2 separate regions of the Homo sapiens genome follow, and region 2 is linked to region 1. The links are contacts of gene promoters, found by promoter capture Hi-C in human tissues and cell types (Jung and others, 2019). All regions are on one chromosome and are shown on one strand. Each heading gives the region's core, a stretch centred on a gene start or on the middle of the fragment in contact. The rest is flanking DNA. Distances are from core to core; before and after follow the strand shown.

Region 1 (4,439 bases), core at 858-3,357:
TCAGAGGGCGAGTAGGCGGCGGCGCGCCCGCGCTCGTCCCAGTGGAAGGCCTCGCTGGCGCGCATATCCTCCAGCAGCCACACGGGTAGCAGGTCGCGCACCGCCTGGTAGAAGGCGAACGACGACTTGCGGCACTGCTTCTGCGCTCGCGAGCGCGCCGCGCCCGAGGCCTCGGGCCCGCCGTCCGCGCCACCCCCAGGCCGCCGCGCGTCCCACGGCATGCTGGCGGCGGGGCGTTCCTGGGCCTCAAGGCATGGATCCCGCGAAGGCACACCTGCGGGGAAAGGAAGAGGCCACGGTGAGGCGCGGGGAAACTGGGGAGGCCCGGGGACTCCCCTCTGCCCCTCACACAGCCCCTCCGGTCCTGGCCCACCAGGCCTGTACCTACCTCCAGCCTCGGCCAGGCCCTTCCAGTCACCCTACAGCTCCATCTCTCCGACGCCCAGAACCACCGCCTCCATCCTTGATCTAGCTGTACCTGTTCTCCCTCCTTGAAACTGACTTGCTCTCTGGCACCTCTGCTGGAAATGCCCTTGCTGCCCATGCCCTCAAATCTCCCCTCCCCTCTCCAACCCAGGGACCCACTGGAAGAGCTTCTGTTCCCACCTAAGCCAGGTTCATACGACCCCAAATAAAGAAAAGGCCAGGGAGGGGATGAGAAAGCTTGGGCCCACATCTCAAGCTGAGGCAAATCCACTCTCCAGCCCAAGCGCAACCCTGACCCTGATCTCCGACCCCAGACCACTTGGAGGCCCCTGGAGCCTCTTCCTGGGCTGTTCAGAGGCATGATCCAGACTCAGACCTACCTGGTTCCTGCACCGCGATCACCTAGTTCCGGGGATGTGGGTATATCACAGTCCCTGGCCGAGCCTCAGCTTTATCTGTAAGAAAGGGGAGGGGTGGACGACGGCTGTGCGGGCGGGGTGAGCCTGGGGCGTGGCACCAGCCCTCTATCCAAACATGTTTGCTTACACGTTAGCTCCTGGGAGGAGATAGGAGGGTGAAAACAACCTGGAGACCGGTGTGCACCGCACTGCACAGTCTGCCATCCTCTTCAGGTCCCATACCTCTCTTGATCTCCCCGACTACTAGATGAAGCGGGTACTGCCATCCCACTTTCCAGCAGGGCACAAGCTTCTCCAATTCTCCAAGGTCAGCAAGCCACGGCAGAGCCAGGCCTAGAACTCAGGTCCCCTGCGTCTCAGTTTGGGCTCATTCCAGAATTGGTGGGGACCCCCAACCCACAGGCAATCGAGCTTAGGCCCTGACCCTGCCCTCTGAGTCCCCAGCCCCGACCTGAGCCTAGGCGTCTGACCTCTGGCTCCGTCCCAACCTCCCTACTGCCTTCTTTCAAGGGTAAGCCCTTGGTCACAAGGGGCCTGGGACAGAAGGCAGGCCGCGTCCACACACACTGACTGGGTCACTATCACTGGCAGTAACTGAGTTAAAGAGAGCGGCGCGGTGCGGGTAGGCTGTGGCCCGTGGGCAACACCGTGACTGGAGCCCCTTCCCCAAGCCTGGGCCTCCGGGCCCCAGATATGCCCTGTGCCGGCACGCGTGGGGCGCCGGGCGGGTTACGTAAAGTTCGGCCTCCCCACGTCACCGGGCAGAGTCACGGCCGCGGCTCGTGAATAAGGGGGTTGGGCCATCGAAGGCAGCGCCGCGCCCGGGGCCACCCGCCACCTCCTACCCGTCCCCTCCCGGCCTGCACGGCCAGACGTCGGGCGGCGGAGGGTCGCGGGGCCGAGCGGGGCGTCCGCGCGCAGGTGGCCGGCGCAGCGAGGGCTGCACCTGCGTGCGCGTGTGCCGGAGGAGGAGGGGGCGGCGGCCGCGGGCGCGGCGCGGGGGACGGGGACTCACCATGGGGGGCGCGGGGGCCACAGGCCGGGCGTCCCCGCCCCTGCCGCGGACCGGAGCGCGCGCTGTCCCCCGCGGGCGAGCGGGCAAAGGTCCCACGACGGACGCACGGGAGGGAGCCACCGCCGCCCGCGCCCGCCGCAGCCGCGCTCTGAGCCGCCGCGGCCGGATCGCAGGGCGGCGGTGCCGTCGCCGGCGGCGGGCGGCGGGCGGCGGGCGGCGGGCGGCGCAGTGCGGCCCCGGCCAGGCAGGACAGCGGGACCGTCCGCCGCCGCCATTGGCCCGCGCCGCCGGCCCCCGCCACCACCCATTGGCCGCCGCGCTGCACCATTGTTACGTCACTGGCCGGCGGGCGGGGCGCACCGCTGGACCCGCGGAAAACTTCGGAGAAACTTGAGGGAGCGCCGGCGGGGAGAACGGAGAGGAGGGGCGGGGCCGTGGCGAAAGGGGCGGGGCGTTGATGGGCGGGGGCGGGGCTCCCGGAACCCGAGCTGCGGGCGAAGAAAGGCTCCGAGCTCCGAGCTGCCCTAGCCCGGGAGGGCGCCGCTGCTCTGCGAACTCGGGCGCGCGCGTAGGTGGCCCGCCCTCCGCCGTGCGTGACTTTCCTCGTCGCGTCCAGCTCCCCTTTTCTTTGACCTTACGTGACCTTGGGAAAAACCTCCAGGCTGCTACCCCATCTGCACATGGGAGGGCCGGGGGTAGGAGCCGCGACCCCTAAGGGCTCCACCGCCTTCTGCCCGGCCAGGGTCGTGCCTGGCGCGCCCCCGCTCCAGCTGACCCGCGCAAGGGAGGGAGGGGCGGACGGATGGGGACAGCTGTTTAGGAGCGCGCACTGCGCCCATCTCGGCCTCAACACTCATGTTTCCACTTCGTTTCACGACCACCAGCCACAGTGGACACGATGATCCCCAGTTCACCCGCCAGCAAATCAGGGCTCAGAGAGGTGGCCTCAAAGAGAGGAGCGGCCAGGAGGGAAGCCGGGGGTTTGCCCTGCGGTTCTTCCCACATCTGGGCGGGATAGATTCGATTGGGCCTCGGCCACCCCCACCGTCTCCGTCGGGGGTTCCAAGGTTTGGGGTCATGACCTAGGGGGCTTAGGAGCCTGGGTCCATCTCAACTAATTTATGGCCTCACTCGCCCCCAGCGGCTGGGAATTCTAGGCCCATTTTACAGATGTGGACGCAGATCTGGAGAGGGGCAATGACTGCTCAACCCCCCACCCATCCTCCCAGACACGACCTTCCACCTGGAATCCCCCCACACACGTTCTCAGAGGCCAGGCAGCCGGGGTCTCATGGTGAAATCCCCACATTCCATGCAGGGGCTCTTTCTGGTTCCTTCCCTAGAATGCTGTCCCTGCCCTTCCAGTACTATCTCACCAGGGAGACCCTCCCACTCCCCCACTCCGCTCCAACCAAGCAAGGCCTCTGCCTCGCCCCGGTGGGAGGGGCCTCGTCCAGAGGGCACGCCCCTGCACACACAATCAGCCCTGTCCTGGCTTCTCTGTGTGCCCCAGCCAGTCAGTCTGGGTGGAAGTCTTACCTGGGCCCTCTCAACAGACCTAGGCAGGCCTCTGTCCCCAGCCCAACGAGCTCAATCCCTTAAGCACACACGCCACAGAGCAGTCCTGAGAGGCCAGGTGGACAGTACCATGAGGCAGACAAAGCTGTGAGGCCCAGAGAGGGTCAGGCCACCCCAGCCCAGGTAGGCACTCACATGTATCCTGCCCAGGCTGCCATGCATGGACCCACCAGGGGGATGACCAGACCCCACCAGCCCTGCCCCACCTCAGGGCGGGGGACGTTCCAGGCCACGCCATCTCTCCCAGGGAGTCCATGGCAACTGCCAAGCTTACAGCAGCCAGGTTGTCAGCAGGAGTAGGGGTATAGAGGGCACTGGGCCTGGCATCCGCACCCGCCTTTGCCTCAGCTCCACATGTCTCCTCCTGTATCTAGGCCTATCTCCCTAGGGCTTCTCCCATCTGCCGGTTCTGGATGCCTCTGAGTACGATGGTGGGGAGAGCAAAGTGAGTGAAGGTCCTGGAGTCAACAATCGGCCTTTGGGAGCCCAAACCCTGGGGGACATCTTGGGGAGATGGTGCCCATGTGGGCTGTCTGTGGCTCAAGGCTCCCCTGCTCTCTTGCCCTCTTCGAAGGCTGGAGTTGAGATACAGCCGTCTCCATGGCTACTGGTGGAATGAGGGTGAAAGGGCACCAGTGGATGCCAGGCTGTGCACTGGGCCTCAGGGCGGGTCTCTCTCCACCCCTTGATGTCTTCCCTGCCCCCGTGCCCTGACCTGCCCTCCTCACTGGGGATCCCAGAGGGTTTTTTTTTTTCCCAAGACAAAGTCTCATTCTGTCACCCAGACTGGAGTGCAGTGGTGCAATCTCAGCTCCCTGCAACCTCCACTTCCCAGGTTCAAGCAATTGTCATGCTGCAGCCTCCCAAGTAGCTGCAATTACAGGCATGCACCAGCACTCACAGCTAGTTTTTGTATTTTTAGTAGAGACGGGGTTTTGCCATGTTGGCCAGGCTGGTCTCGAACTCTTGGCCTCAAGTGATCTGCCTGCCCCAGAGACCTT
Region 2 (4,439 bases), core at 888-3,387, 140 kb before region 1:
ATGGCACAATCTTGGCTCACCACAACCTCTGCCTTCTGGGTTCAAGCGATTCTCCTGCCTCAGCCTCCCAAGTGGCTGGGATTACAGGCATGCGCCACCACGCCCAGGTAATTTTGTATTTTTAGTAGAGATGGGGTTTTTCCATGTTGGTCAGGCTGGTTTTGAACTCCCAACCTCAGGTGATCCGCCCTGACTCAGTCTCCTGAAGTGCTGGGGTTTACAGGTGTGAGACACCGCGCCCAGCCTTCTTTGTGCTTTTCTATATTAACAAATTTTTGAGGCCGGGCATGGTGGTTCATACCTGTAATCCCAGCAAGTCTGGGCGTGGTAGCTCAAGCCTGTAATCCTAGCACTTTGGGAGGCCAAGGTGGGTGGATCACCTGAGATCAGGAGTTCAAGACCAGCATGATCAACATGGTGAAACCCCATCTCTATTAAAAATACAAAAATTAGCCAGGCCTGGTGGCAGGCACCTGTAATCCCAGCTACTCGGGAGGCTGAGGCACAAGAATCACTTGAACCCAGGAGGCGGAGGTTGCAGTGAGCCAAGATCATGCCACTGCACTCCAGCATGGGCGACGGAGCAAGTCTCAAAAAAAAAAGCAACTTTTTGATAGTGAGCATTTATAACTGTTATAAAAAGAAACCTTTATTTTTAAAAAGTTAAATAAATTATGGCACATCAATGTGTGTATGAGTATGTATGTATGCACTCTTTAAGGAAACAAAGCCTTTTACTATTTCTGTGCCTTGGAAAGAAGAATAAGAAGTTTCTGCATCCATGAAGTGGAGGTAACATTCATGTCTAATGTTTGGGGATTGCAGGAAAAAAAAATGGAAGTAACTATGATGCCTACTTCATGTTTGTTTTTTTTTTCTTTCTTTTTGGTGAGGATTTAATGGGTTTGTGTGCTAAGAACAGTTTGTATTAAGTACAGACGGTTTTCAACTTACAGAGTTTCAACTTACTATTTTTTGACTTTAAGATTGAGCGAAAACGATACCATTCAGTAGAAACTGTATTTCCAGTAACCATACAACCATTCTGTTTTTCACTTTCAATATGGTATTAAATAAATTACATGAGATATGCAACACTTTGTGATAAAATAGGCTTTGATTAGATGATTTTGCCCAGCTGTAGGCTAACATAAGTATTCTAAGCACATTTAAGTTAGGCTAGGCTAAGCTAAGATGTTCGGCAGGTTAGGTGTATTAAATGTATTGTGACTTATCTTTTCAGCTTATGACGGTTTTATTGGGACATAACCCCATTGTAAGTTGAGGAGCATCTGTAAAAACATTAGCTATTCCCATTATTATTACTGCAAAAGAGGGTGGATTGGGTTCTTAAGTATCACAGAGGAATGCAATTATTATTATTATTGTTATTTACTTACCTTTAAGAAAGTTCTCATACGTGGATATGTTCTGCCTGTATTGGCTATTGTGACTGTCAGATGAAATGGGAATCTAAGGCTGGGCGCGATGGCTCACACCTGTAATCCCAGCACTTTGGGAGACTCAGATGGGCAGATCATGAGGTCAGGAGTTCGAGACCAGCCTGGCCAATATGGGGAAACCCCCATCTCTACTAAAAAATATAAAAATTATCCGGGCTTGGTGGCACACGCCTGTAGTCCCACCTACTCGGGAGGCTGAGGCAGAAGAACCCAGGAGGCGAGTGTTGCAGTGAGCCGAGATCGCACCACCGCACTCCAGCTTGGGGGACAGAGCGAGATTCTGTCTCAAAAAAAAAAAAAAAAAAGAAAAGAAATAGAATCTAAAAATGCTTGGAAAACTGGATATGCTATACAGATTTAGGGAATTATTATTCCAGCATTGAATTGGGGTCATATTGAAGAAAAAATGATACTTTGCTGCTCTTCCATTCCATTTTTTAGAATTTTATATTTAATATTTTTTCTTTTGCTCTACACATTCAGAGAAACTTCTCTAGTAATGAACTATAGAAATGATCCCAGAAAGCACAGCCTTTGTTCTTCTGTTCTTGTCACTCATTCCTTCCTTGCATATTTTCCTTTTATTTATTTATTCATTTAAGAGACAGTGTCTCACTCTGTCACTCGGGCTAGAGTGCAGTGACACAGTCATAGCTCACTGCAGCCTCAAATTCCTAGGCTCAAGTGATCTTCCTGGCTGAGTGCAGTGGCTCATACCTGTAATCCCAGCACTTGGGGAAGCTGAGGAGGAAGGATCACTTGAGCCCAGGAGTTGGAGACCAGCCTAGGCAACATAGTGAAACCCTCTCTATTTTTTAAAATGAAATATTTGTTTTAAAAGCGTGATCTTCCCACCTCAGCCTCATGAGTAGCTAGGACTACAGGCATGTAGCACCATGCCTGACTAATTTTTAAAAATATTTTTTGTTGAGGCGGGAGTCTTGCTATGTTGCCCAGGCTGGTTGTGAACTCCTGGTCTCAAGCAGTTCTCCCACCTTGGCCTCCCAAAGCACTAGGATTACAGGCATAAGCCACTGTTCCTGGGCCAAATTTTCTGTTTCATCATTCATTCATTTATGCAACAAATACTTGCTGAATGCCTCTGATGTGCCTAGCCCTTTTCTCCCTGCGGGGGGAAGAGGGGTGAGTGAGGCAGATATGGGCTCTGCTGTTATGGGCCTTACAGACTAGTGTGTGTGTCAGAGTGGCAGGCAGGCAGATAACCAGTCAGAGAAAAGAAAGGAGATGTGTGGATAGGCCGGACACGGTGGCTCACACCTGTAATCCAAGCACTTTGGGAGGCTGAGATGGGAGGATCTCTTGAGCCCAGGAGCTTGAGGCTGTAGTAAGCCATGATTGAGACCAGCCTGGGCAACACAGCGAGACCTCATCTCTACAAAATAATTTAAAAATTAGCCAGGCATGGTGGCATATTCCTGTAGTCCCAGCTACGTGGGAGGTGGAGGCAGGAGGTTCACTTGAGCCCAGGAGTTTGAGGCGTCAGTGAGTCATGATCTTGCTACTGCTTTCCAGCCTGGGTCACAGAGTGAGACTGTGTCTCAAAAAAAAAGAAGAAAGGGGCTGTGTAGAGAAAGTAAAACTGGGAGAGGTGACAGAGAGAGAACTCAGTAGGGGGAGGAGAAATCAAGTACGGCCTCATGAAAGAGGGCACAATTGAGAAGGAGGAAGAGCTCAGTAGAGAAAGAACATTCCAAGTGGACGGAACAGCCAATGCAAGGGCCCTGGGGTGAGAACGAGCTGGATTAATTTGATCAGAAGAGGGACTGGAAGTTGGTCAGTCCACTATGTAGAAATAGAAAACCTACAGTTCAAAGAGACCATAAATCCATGATGCAAGAAGTTTCTGTGAGAGGAGCTTGGAAGTCTCCATAGAACCTGTAGAGCTAAAATATCCCTCCAGGTGTAATCAGGTACAGAGCATCTACCTGGACTGTTACAGCCTGCCTGTCAGAGCTGTGACTGTGCTGTTGTCAAGAGCCTAGGACTTGGAGGGAAAAGACCTAGAGTCAAGTCTCGGCTGTTTGATCTTGAGTGAGTCTCATGACCCTCTGGCCCCCAGTCCCTTCTAAAAGTTAGGGATGATGCTACCTGCCTTATAAGGTAGGGTCAGGATTAAATCAGTGAGTGAGCACTTTGTGAAAGATGGCGTGCATGGAAGGGTTGCATATCTTTAGTAAGGGAAGCTTTGAAGCCAAAGTGCAAGTGGGTGGGTCTCCATGTGGAACAGAGTAAGGTGCTGTGTGGCTGGACTCTTGAGCGCTGAGGAGGCTGTGGGCATCCAACCAGGCCAGGGCACCTGTTCTTCACCATCTCATTAACACAGCCAGCATATCTGCATCTGAGATTGGCCCACTATTCTCCTAATAGAGTGTCTTTCCTGTTTCTCTTTTCCATATCCTGTCCAACCTGGTGGGCTTCATAGTTCAGGATGTGTTCAGTGAAGCCATGTCTACACTCACTCTAATCCCCACTGATCTCTCTCTCCTCATGAAAACCCACAAATTATCACCTCATTACTTGTGGATTTGTGTCTTTTCACTATTTCATCTGCCTCCCTGTCTAGATCATAAGCTACTTGGGAGTAAGAACTGTTTTGTTTTTTGTATTCTTTCCACTCCTCCATGGCATTCACTACAACATAAATCATAGAGGTCAGAACATACTGAAGTGCATTTTGAGTTAAAATGCTCAAAAGTGATCTTAGTGACACGTGTTTACTTTCCCTGTTTATTTAAGCTCCAGCTATAATGTTTACCTGCCTAAAAGTTCCATGTTGCCAGTATTAAACATACTTCTTTTTGCCATGACTAGGCATTGAAAGGATTGTAATGCTTTGTTCTGTAGCCCCCAGGTTTCCCTAGATGACAAATAAACATTCCTTTTCCTGCGTGAAGATAGTCTGTGGAAACCTTGGCCATGGCATCGATATCAGAGCCTGTTACATTCAGAGAGTTC

Evidence for each region. Contacts are between HindIII fragments. The study calls those that stand out against the background at their distance.
Region 2: a contact is called between a fragment that was not itself captured here and the fragment with the promoter of ANKRD9 in region 1, in 1 of the 25 tissues and cell types used here (hippocampus).

What each region holds. Positions count from the first base shown.
Region 1 is chr14:102,507,669-102,512,107 of GRCh38, forward strand. It overlaps ANKRD9 (ankyrin repeat domain 9), which reads right to left and starts at 2,108. Exons shown (of 4, transcript NM_152326.4): 1 at 1,861-2,108; 2 at 973-1,178; 3 at 807-881; 4 at 1-274. The coding sequence starts at 221. It overlaps LOC105370679 (a long non-coding RNA gene), which reads left to right and starts at 2,375. Exons shown (of 4, transcript XR_007064352.1): 1 at 2,375-3,883. RefSeq lists silencers at 896-1,057, 2,052-2,491, 2,652-2,701 and enhancers at 2,182-2,825, 2,826-3,471, 3,472-4,115. The HindIII fragment of the contact is 3,197 bases long and covers 899-4,095 here.
Region 2 is chr14:102,372,322-102,376,760 of GRCh38, forward strand. TECPR2 (tectonin beta-propeller repeat containing 2) reads left to right here. Exons shown (of 20, transcript NM_014844.5): 2 at 4,329-4,439. The coding sequence starts at 4,401. All of the region lies in intron 1 of LOC124903389 (a long non-coding RNA gene), which reads right to left. It also overlaps the pseudogene LOC124903440. Among named protein-coding and RNA genes, the nearest start is that of TECPR2, 12 kb to the left of the region's middle. RefSeq lists enhancers at 3,018-3,077, 3,108-3,177. The HindIII fragment of the contact is 8,045 bases long and covers 1-4,439 here.